Regions from separate parts of the Homo sapiens genome. Here region 1 is linked to region 2. Evidence: promoter capture Hi-C in human tissues and cell types (Jung and others, 2019). All regions are on one chromosome and are shown on one strand. Each heading gives the region's core, a stretch centred on a gene start or on the middle of the fragment in contact. The rest is flanking DNA. Distances are from core to core; before and after follow the strand shown.

Region 1 (3,891 bases), core at 169-2,668, 110 kb after region 2:
CAAGGCAATGGATTAGGAGTATATAAAGTATAATTGTTTCCAAATATAAGCTATTATAAATATTGACATCTTGCAGTATACCCAGTATTTTAATTATGAAAGTTAAAATTATATAAACAACATATATGTGGTAGTATTTTCTCTTACCTTTATTATAAATTGATCAATATAAAAATAATGGCTAAATAGATTATAGCCTCAAAGACAGTAAATGATAATTTCCTTTCCCTAGAAATTGAAATAGTCCAGTATAAAATTTGCTTTTGTTAAAAGCTTAAAATTTAGGAATATAAAATATATTTACTGTCATGTGGAGGATGTAATAGCATCCTGATTCATTACTTGAGCTTTGTCCAAAGACTTTTATGTCTTCAAATATACTCTGTGATATTTTACTTTCTCTGGTTATGTATAAAGCTAATCAAGAAGCGAATATAATAGCTGCTACTTTAGGATAAACTAAAGATAGGAAAATAATTATATTTTATATAGAATGTATCAGCTATCCTTTAAATGCCTATAGTGGTATCAAAACTAACACATGCTAATTTAGCTAGGTATCAGCAATAGGCTGGCAATTAGTAAGGGTGCTTTGAAGCAATCACTGAAGCTACAACATAAATCTGTGGCAGACAGCACAAACTACATTCTTATGTTGTTAATCACTCTTCTTAATTTTCAGTGCCAGAAAGAATGGTCCTTTTCAGGCTATCTATTGCTGCATAACTAATCACCCTGAGAACTCGGTGGTTTAAAAATTACAATAATTGCATTAACTTTCAGGGTTTATAGGGGACCAGAACTAGGAAAGAGCTTGGCTTGGTGTTTCCAGTTCAGAGTCTTTCCTTGTGATTGCATTTAAACTACAATAAATTTAATTAAAGTTTAATTCTTAAAAATTAAAGTTTAAAATGTCCCCTGAACCACAAAATAATTTTGGCATAATGATGGCCAATTGACTCTTTCACATATGAATTCTATCATTGCCCCTCTATTTTCACCACATTTTACCTAAGAGATACCTGTCTAAAATAACTGGTGGTACCTAATTGATGTTTTCCTAATATATATTATAAGTGCTCTAATATATAAAGTTGCATTGTGTTCTGAATATGTTAGCAAACAACATTAAGTATCAAAATAAAATGTAGGGAATTGCTTTCCTTTTTTTTTCAGAATGTGCAGGCAAGCAAGAAAGACACAGAATAACATTGAGAGAAATAGAGATCATTGTGCAAGGAGAAGCCTATGAATAAAAATTAGCTGGAAAGTCAGTCATTATGTCAGAACAAACATCTTCTAAGAAGAAAATTCTGATTGATTTCCACATAATCACTCTGATTGTGGAGTCAGCCTGAGCCACACATGAGCCAGCTCTTCCACTGCTGTTGACTGCGCCTGCAAACAACCAAGAAAACATAAATCAGGGAGAGGAAATGACTAAAGTATGGATTTAAATGTTCCTATTTTTACAAGGCTGTAGGCTCCACATTTTTGTTGACTATTTTAATGATACCAGCAACAATTTGGGGCAGCCATCCTGGTAATGTCTCTTAACCTTTTCTGTCATTTATGGGAAGCAGTTTGCAGGTACTTCATGATCAGAGAAAGAACTTGACCAATTTATTCTTTAGTATTTAGTTCAAAAGAGAGCTATAAAAACTGTTTTTTTTTCTAGTTTAAAGGGATGCTATTTTGAGAAAAAAATATTCTCAATAAAATTTGCTACTAAGGTAGACAAAATATATACAAAATTTAAACACATATAATAACATATACAAAAGTTACACAGCTCAATTAAACAATCTCAATATGGAGAAAGGCAAAAGATGCTTCTCAAAGATAAGTAACCATAAACTCACTGACCAGCTAAGTTGGTCCATATTTTATCCGCTCATTTATTCACCTAACATTGACATTTACTGAGCACCTCTATGTGCTCAATACAGTAGTACATGGAACACTTAACATAACTTTAAAGACATATATGTATATATATATACACACACACACACACACACACACATATATACTTTAATAATAATTTTAAAATGTAACTCAACCTTGTTATTAAAGTGAGGCAACTTAATTTTATATCTTGGTGATATGGTTTGGCCATGTCCCCACCCAAATCTCATCTTGAATTGTAGTTCCAATAATCCCCACGTGTCAAGGGAGAAACCCGGTAGCAGGTAATTAAATCATGGGGGTGGTTCCTCAGGCTGTTCTTATGATAGTGAGTGAGTCCTCGCGAGATCTGATGGTTTTGTAAGGGGCTTTTCTCTCTTTATTCAGTATTTCTCCTTCTTGCTGCCATGTGAACAAGGACGTGTTTGCTTCCCCATCTGCCATGAATGTAAGCTTCCTGAGACATTCCCAGCCTCAGGACTGTGATTCAATTAAACCTCTTTCCTTTATAAATTACCCAGTTTGGGGTGCGTCTTTATTAGCAGTGTGAGAACAAACTGATGCAGTAAATTAGTACCAAGGGAGTGGGGCTATAAGGATACCCAAAAATATGGAAACCACTTTGGAACTGGGTAACAAGAACAGGTTGGAACAATTCGGAGGGCTCAGAAGAAGACAAGAAAACTTGGAAAAGTTTGGAACTTTCTAGAGACTTGGAGGGCTCAGAAGATAGGAAGATGTGGGAAAATTTGGAACTTCCTAGAAACTTGTTGAATGGCTTTGACCAAAATGCTGATAGTGATATGGACAGTGAAGTGGTCATCTCAGATGAAGATGAGGAACTTGTTGGGAACTGGAGCAAAGGTGACTCTTGCTATGCTTCAGCAAGGAGACTGGCAGCTTTTTGCCCCTGACCTAGAGATCTGTGGAACTTTGAACCTGAGAGAGATGATTTAGGGTATCTGGCAGAATAAATTTCTAAGCAACAAGGCATTCAAGAGTAATCAGAGCATAAAAGTTTAAAAAATTGCAGCCTGAAGACGCAATAAAAAAGAAAAACCCATTTTCTGGAGAGAAATTCAAGCACACTGCAGGAATTTGCATAAGTAACAAGAAGCCAAATGTGAATCACCAAGAAAATGGGGAAAATGTCTCCAGGACATGTCAGAGACCTTCATGGCAGCCGCTCCCATCACAAGCCTGAAGGCCTAAAATGAAAAAATGCCTTATTGAACCAAAACCAGGGCCCCCTTGCTCTGTGCAGCTTCAAGACATGGTGCCCTGAGTCCCAACTGGCTCAATGCCAGCTGTGACTAAACGGGGCCAAGGTACAGCTCAGTCTGTTGCTTCAGACAGTGCAAGCCCCAAGCCTTGGCAGCTTCCACGTGGTGTTGGGCCAGTGGATGCACAGAAGACAAGATTGGAGGTTTCGGAACCTCTGCCTAGGTTTCAGAGGATGTATGGAAATGCTGGGATATCCAGGGAGAAGTTTGCTACAGGCATGGAGCCCTCATGAAGAACTCTGCTAGGGCAGTGTGGAAAGGAAATGTGGGGTCAGAGCCCCCACACAGAGTCCCCACTGGGGCACTGCCTATTGAAGCTTTGAGAAGAGGGCCACCCTCCTTCAGATCCCAGAATGGTAGATCCACCAAACAGCTTGCACCGTGCATCTGGAAAGGCTGCAGGAACTCAATGCCAGCCTATGAAAGCAGCGGGGAGGGGGACTGTACCCTGCAAAGCCACAGGGGTGGAGCTGCCCAAGGCTGTGGGAGCCCACCTCTTGCACCAATATGACCTGGACGTGAAACGTGGAGTCAAAGATCATTTTGGAACTTTAAGGTTTAATGACTGCCCTATTGGATTTTGGACTGGCATGGGGCCTGTGGCCTCTCTGTTTTTGCCAATTTCTCCCAATTGATATGGATGTATTTACCCATTGCCTGTACCCTCATTGTATCTAGTAAGTAACTAACTCGCTTTTGA
Region 2 (4,364 bases), core at 1,566-4,065:
TAATTTGAAAAGTCTGGCTCAATTCCCAGACTTAGGTCAAGCTAATATACGAATATATTTAGTCCAGTTTACTGTTTTATTGGACTTTGATGTTGAGTTATGTTTTTTGAAAGAGTATTTTTATACTGCAAGTTCCAAAAAAGATCCTAAAAAAGACAAAGCCTTGTTTTCTTTTTATCTTTAACTGTAATAAGAAGTTGGATCTAATTTCGAAACTCCCACAATTTGCTGCACATATATTTTGGATTATGTGGGAGGCTAAAATTATATTGAGCATGAGGAATTGTTCCTATCTTATTTTCTGGCATAAAATCATGTTTTTCTTTATTGTTTTTGTATGTCTCAGAACTTCAGAAAAAGGAAAAGCATGCATCCAAAATAAAGAAAAAGTAATTATAAATTTACAACATCACAAGTGAACACAACCTACTTCTCGTAGTATTTTTGGTTTGGATATATTGCTAAATAGCATCATCATTCTCTTAGACATGAGGTTGAAAATTTCTGGGTTACTGTTGACTTCTTTCTTATTCTTACTTTTTTAAGTCCTTTTGTTTATTTTTATTCTTTCTGTTATCACAGATCCTACTCATTTTTGTCCCTCTGTAACTATTATCTAAATACATTTAAGAGATTCTTAATTGTCTTTTATAATTTACCTTCTTTCCTCTCCAAGCTATTATTAATTTTGAAGCCAAAACAATCTCAATCAAAATATTTACTTCATTTTAATGATTTCTCATTGTCTAGTGTGTTGAGTTTCAGGAAGAATGCCGGTGTCCTCTCTATTCTGGCTATACCTTAAAATTACTTCAGTGATTTTTAAATACACCAGTCTCTGGACCATAACCTCGAGACTCTGATTCATTATGCAAGAGTGGACATGGGTCTTTGAATTTCTAACAAATGTTATTGTGTTTTAATTGTGCTAAGAAAACCCTGCTCTGGCAACCTAATAAAGTAGCCTGCTAATAACAGGTACTCAATAAATATTTGTGGAACAAATGAATTATTGATTCTTTGTATGAACAGTTCATTCTCAAGCAAACACCTGAACATCAACCTCTCCCACCCCACACCCCTTTTGAAATATTCTTCATAAAACTTCCTACTGTATGAAAGTATCTTCTGTGTGTGAATTTTTACAGTCTGCATCACCACATGGAATGTGAGATCCCTGAGAAAGGAGACTTTGTTTGTTTTGTTCCCCACAGTGCCTCAGTGTCTGAAATAGCACCTGGTAAATCATAGGGACTTCTGAAATACTTTCTGAATGGATAAATGAGTGGTAGGAAAAGTGTGAACATGGTAGATAAAAGAGAAGTCACCACTAGAACACCAAGTTCCTGACATACAGTTTCAAGGTCCAGCAACATAGTTGCTACGAACTAGCTGCCTTTAAAGTTCTCTAGATCAACTATATAGATTAGCAAGTCTTTTAACTAAGCATTAAGCAGAGTACTGCTCTGAGATTTAGCACCTCAGTCTTTTAGGTCCCTAAAGACTCCGGATTGGTTCCAGAGGTGGACTGTCAAATAGGAGGACTTTCTGCAGTAATGGAAATGGTCTATGTCAGTGCTGTCCAACATGGTAGCCAAGTGTGTGTGGTTATTGAGTACTTGAAATATGGCTAGTGGCACTGAGGAACTAAAGTTTTAATTTTAATTAGTTTAAGTAGCCTTAGGTTGCTAGGGGTTACCATATTGGATATTGCAGTTCTAGAGTTATTCTTCTCTCCTCATATTCAAAATTATCTTATGATGCTATCATAATTGAAAGATTAGCCAGGGACCCTATCATGGCTATGGCAGTCATGTCCTGTGAAAAATTCCATTAATGACCTCCACGTTTTATGATGTGTAGAGCAAAATCTCAGTCTCCCTGAGTAAGGCCTGCTCCATGTGGACACCTGGCTTTCTCCCTTGTCTACCTCCCTCAGTGGAGAGTCCACCTGCTGGTAGTGCACTCCTTAGGTGCCTGTCTCTGGCTGTCCTGTGCCACCTGCACAGAGTCATGCATGAGCTCCACTGTGGGAAGTCTCTAGAGATGAGCTGAGCTTACCCTACACCAACTGAAAGAGTCTATCTAAGTCCTGAAGATCACAAGTCATCCTCATATTCCCATGAATGTGAATGGAAGTTGGGCCTGCTCAGAGAATCATCAGGGCTCTTTATTGTGGCCTGGAGCCAACTGCCAAGGAGTGCCTAGGAACACACTCAGTAAGAGTGTTGCCCTCAGGCCAGATCAGACTTGAACCTGCAGAGAAATCCCCTAGGTATGTCAGCAATTGCTCATTTGGATGCTATAAACTTGAAGTTGTGAAAAATATAAAGACTTACATTATCCAGTCTCTCCTGGCAAAATATGTAGGTTTAATCATTCCTGAATTTTCCTTAGTTCACACAGATATACAAATATATATCCTAAAAATTGGCATTGGTAGGCGTGTCAAGTTATCATTTTAAAAACATAGAAACCTGAACAAGATGTATCACTCCAGTCTAGAATGTCTATATGCAGAGTATCCACAAAAAACCAAACTTCAACAGTCTTTCATGTCTATATTTCTTCAACATTCTTTGTCTTCAACATTCTTTCATGTCTAGAATGTCTATATGCAGAGTATCCACAAAAGACCCAAACTTCTTTCATTTAAAGAACCAAACTTCTTTAAATAAAAATGACTCACAATAATTTAATATTTTACCATTTACAAAGAGATTAACTACAACAATATTGATCTTGAGTTAATTTCCCACGAATAACATTTTCATTTCTTAAAATTTGCTGAATGGAAAGCCAGAAAGTAGAGTGAAGCAAGTAATGTGTGTGTGAGTAGTCATTGGATACATACATAACAGTGAGCAAGTTTATCAGCTCCTGCATGGCAGTGTTCTGATGATCTTTTGCTGCAAAAGAGCTACACCCCAAATTAGTGGCTTAAAGTAAAAGCTTACTAGTGTATATGATGATTCTGTTGGTCCAGGATTTGGAAAGGGCATGGCAGGAGGTCTCATCTCTGCTTCACAATGCCGATGATTTAGCTGGGAGGACCCAAAATGCTGGAAAAGCTGATGGGTGCTGATTCTCTCCAGCTTTTCAGGTAGGTAGCTTGGGGTTTTTTACAGCATGGCGGCCTCAGTGCAATGTGACATTTGCATGGCAGCACAGAGCTCCCAGGGTGAATGTTCCTGGAGACAGGAAGTGGAACATGTCAGGGTTGGAAGCCTGAGCCCAGTATATGGTTCAGCCTTACTTTCTCCCATATTCTGTCAGTCAAAGGAGAACCTAGCCAAGGATCACTCATGTTAATGAGGAGGAGACATAGGCCCTCACCTATCCCTGGGAGGAGGATCAAAGAGTTTGAATCTTTAATCCACAGCAGGCAGACAGCTTTCCATTGTTATAAACCACCTCCCCCTCACTCCATCTGCCTGTGCTAATTGTTTGCTCACAGGAATTTGTTTAGCACTGTGTAGAACTGGGATAACTTTGTGCTTATTTTGCAGTTAAAAGGGAGAGGCGCTAGTTTGGAGATTTTTAAAAAGCAAAGGTTTGAGAGCCAGTAAGACCTGGAGTGAACTCTCCTGTCAGCTATTTACCAACTGTATGACTGAGCAATTTATAAAAAAAAAATGCAAACCTCAATATCTTCATCTATAAAAATAAAAAAATAAGACGTATTTGGCTGAATAGTTAAGATTAAAAATATGAAAGTGCTAAACCATACATGTTATATGCTCCATTGATGTTGCTTATTCTTTCTCTCTTCTGCAGGGTATAAAGGAATCTGAACACGACTGATATTTTCTTTAATTTTTAGATCCAGATATACATTGGGTAAAATCTACTTCATAGGTTTTCAAAGGAGCATTCTTCTGAGCAAATCTGAAAACTCTCTAAACTCTATTGGTATGTTACTCTTTATCTTTATATGAATTTAAATTCTTCTAGAAGTTAGATAAAACTGTGGTAAAGCTACATAATACTTTTGACATATTTTCAAGCGTAGACAAACTTCAATTAATTTGTAAGATACAGGAAGAAAATTTTTCCAGTTAAAATGTACCTCTTGGTTTCTGGAGTGTTAGCAACCATTCACACTTACAGTTCAAACAGTGCAACCTTGTAAAACATATATAACTTATGAAGAGATCGATATCTCTTTTTATAAAGCAAACAAGTAAATTTTTCCCTCAATCCATGATTTATTTTTGTGAAGTGGGAATTTAAGGCAGTAGTTCTGCTTTCAAGTGAAAACCTGGATCAACTTTTAAATATCTATAGGCGCAAACCCAAGCTAGGTCTCACACAGTGCCTCACTTAATAATCTGTCAACGTTTAATTCTTTTTCTTTTTTTTTT

The links. Contacts are between HindIII fragments. The study calls those that stand out against the background at their distance.
Region 1: a contact is called between a fragment that was not itself captured here and the fragment with the promoter of DAOA in region 2, in 2 of the 25 tissues and cell types used here (dorsolateral prefrontal cortex and spleen).

Annotation. Positions count from the first base shown.
Region 1 is chr13:105,571,950-105,575,840 of GRCh38, forward strand. LOC105370345 (a long non-coding RNA gene) reads right to left here. Exons shown (of 7, transcript XR_931698.2): 7 at 127-1,398. Among named protein-coding and RNA genes, the nearest start is that of DAOA-AS1, 68 kb to the left of the region's middle. The HindIII fragment of the contact is 3,031 bases long and covers 1-2,934 here.
Region 2 is chr13:105,463,230-105,467,593 of GRCh38, forward strand. DAOA (D-amino acid oxidase activator) reads left to right here and starts at 2,816. Exons shown (of 6, transcript NM_172370.5): 1 at 2,816-2,831; 2 at 2,987-3,103; 3 at 3,824-3,912. The coding sequence starts at 3,060. DAOA-AS1 (DAOA antisense RNA 1) reads right to left here. Exons shown (of 7, transcript NR_040247.1): 5 at 2,958-3,191. The HindIII fragment of the contact is 13,308 bases long and covers 1-4,237 here.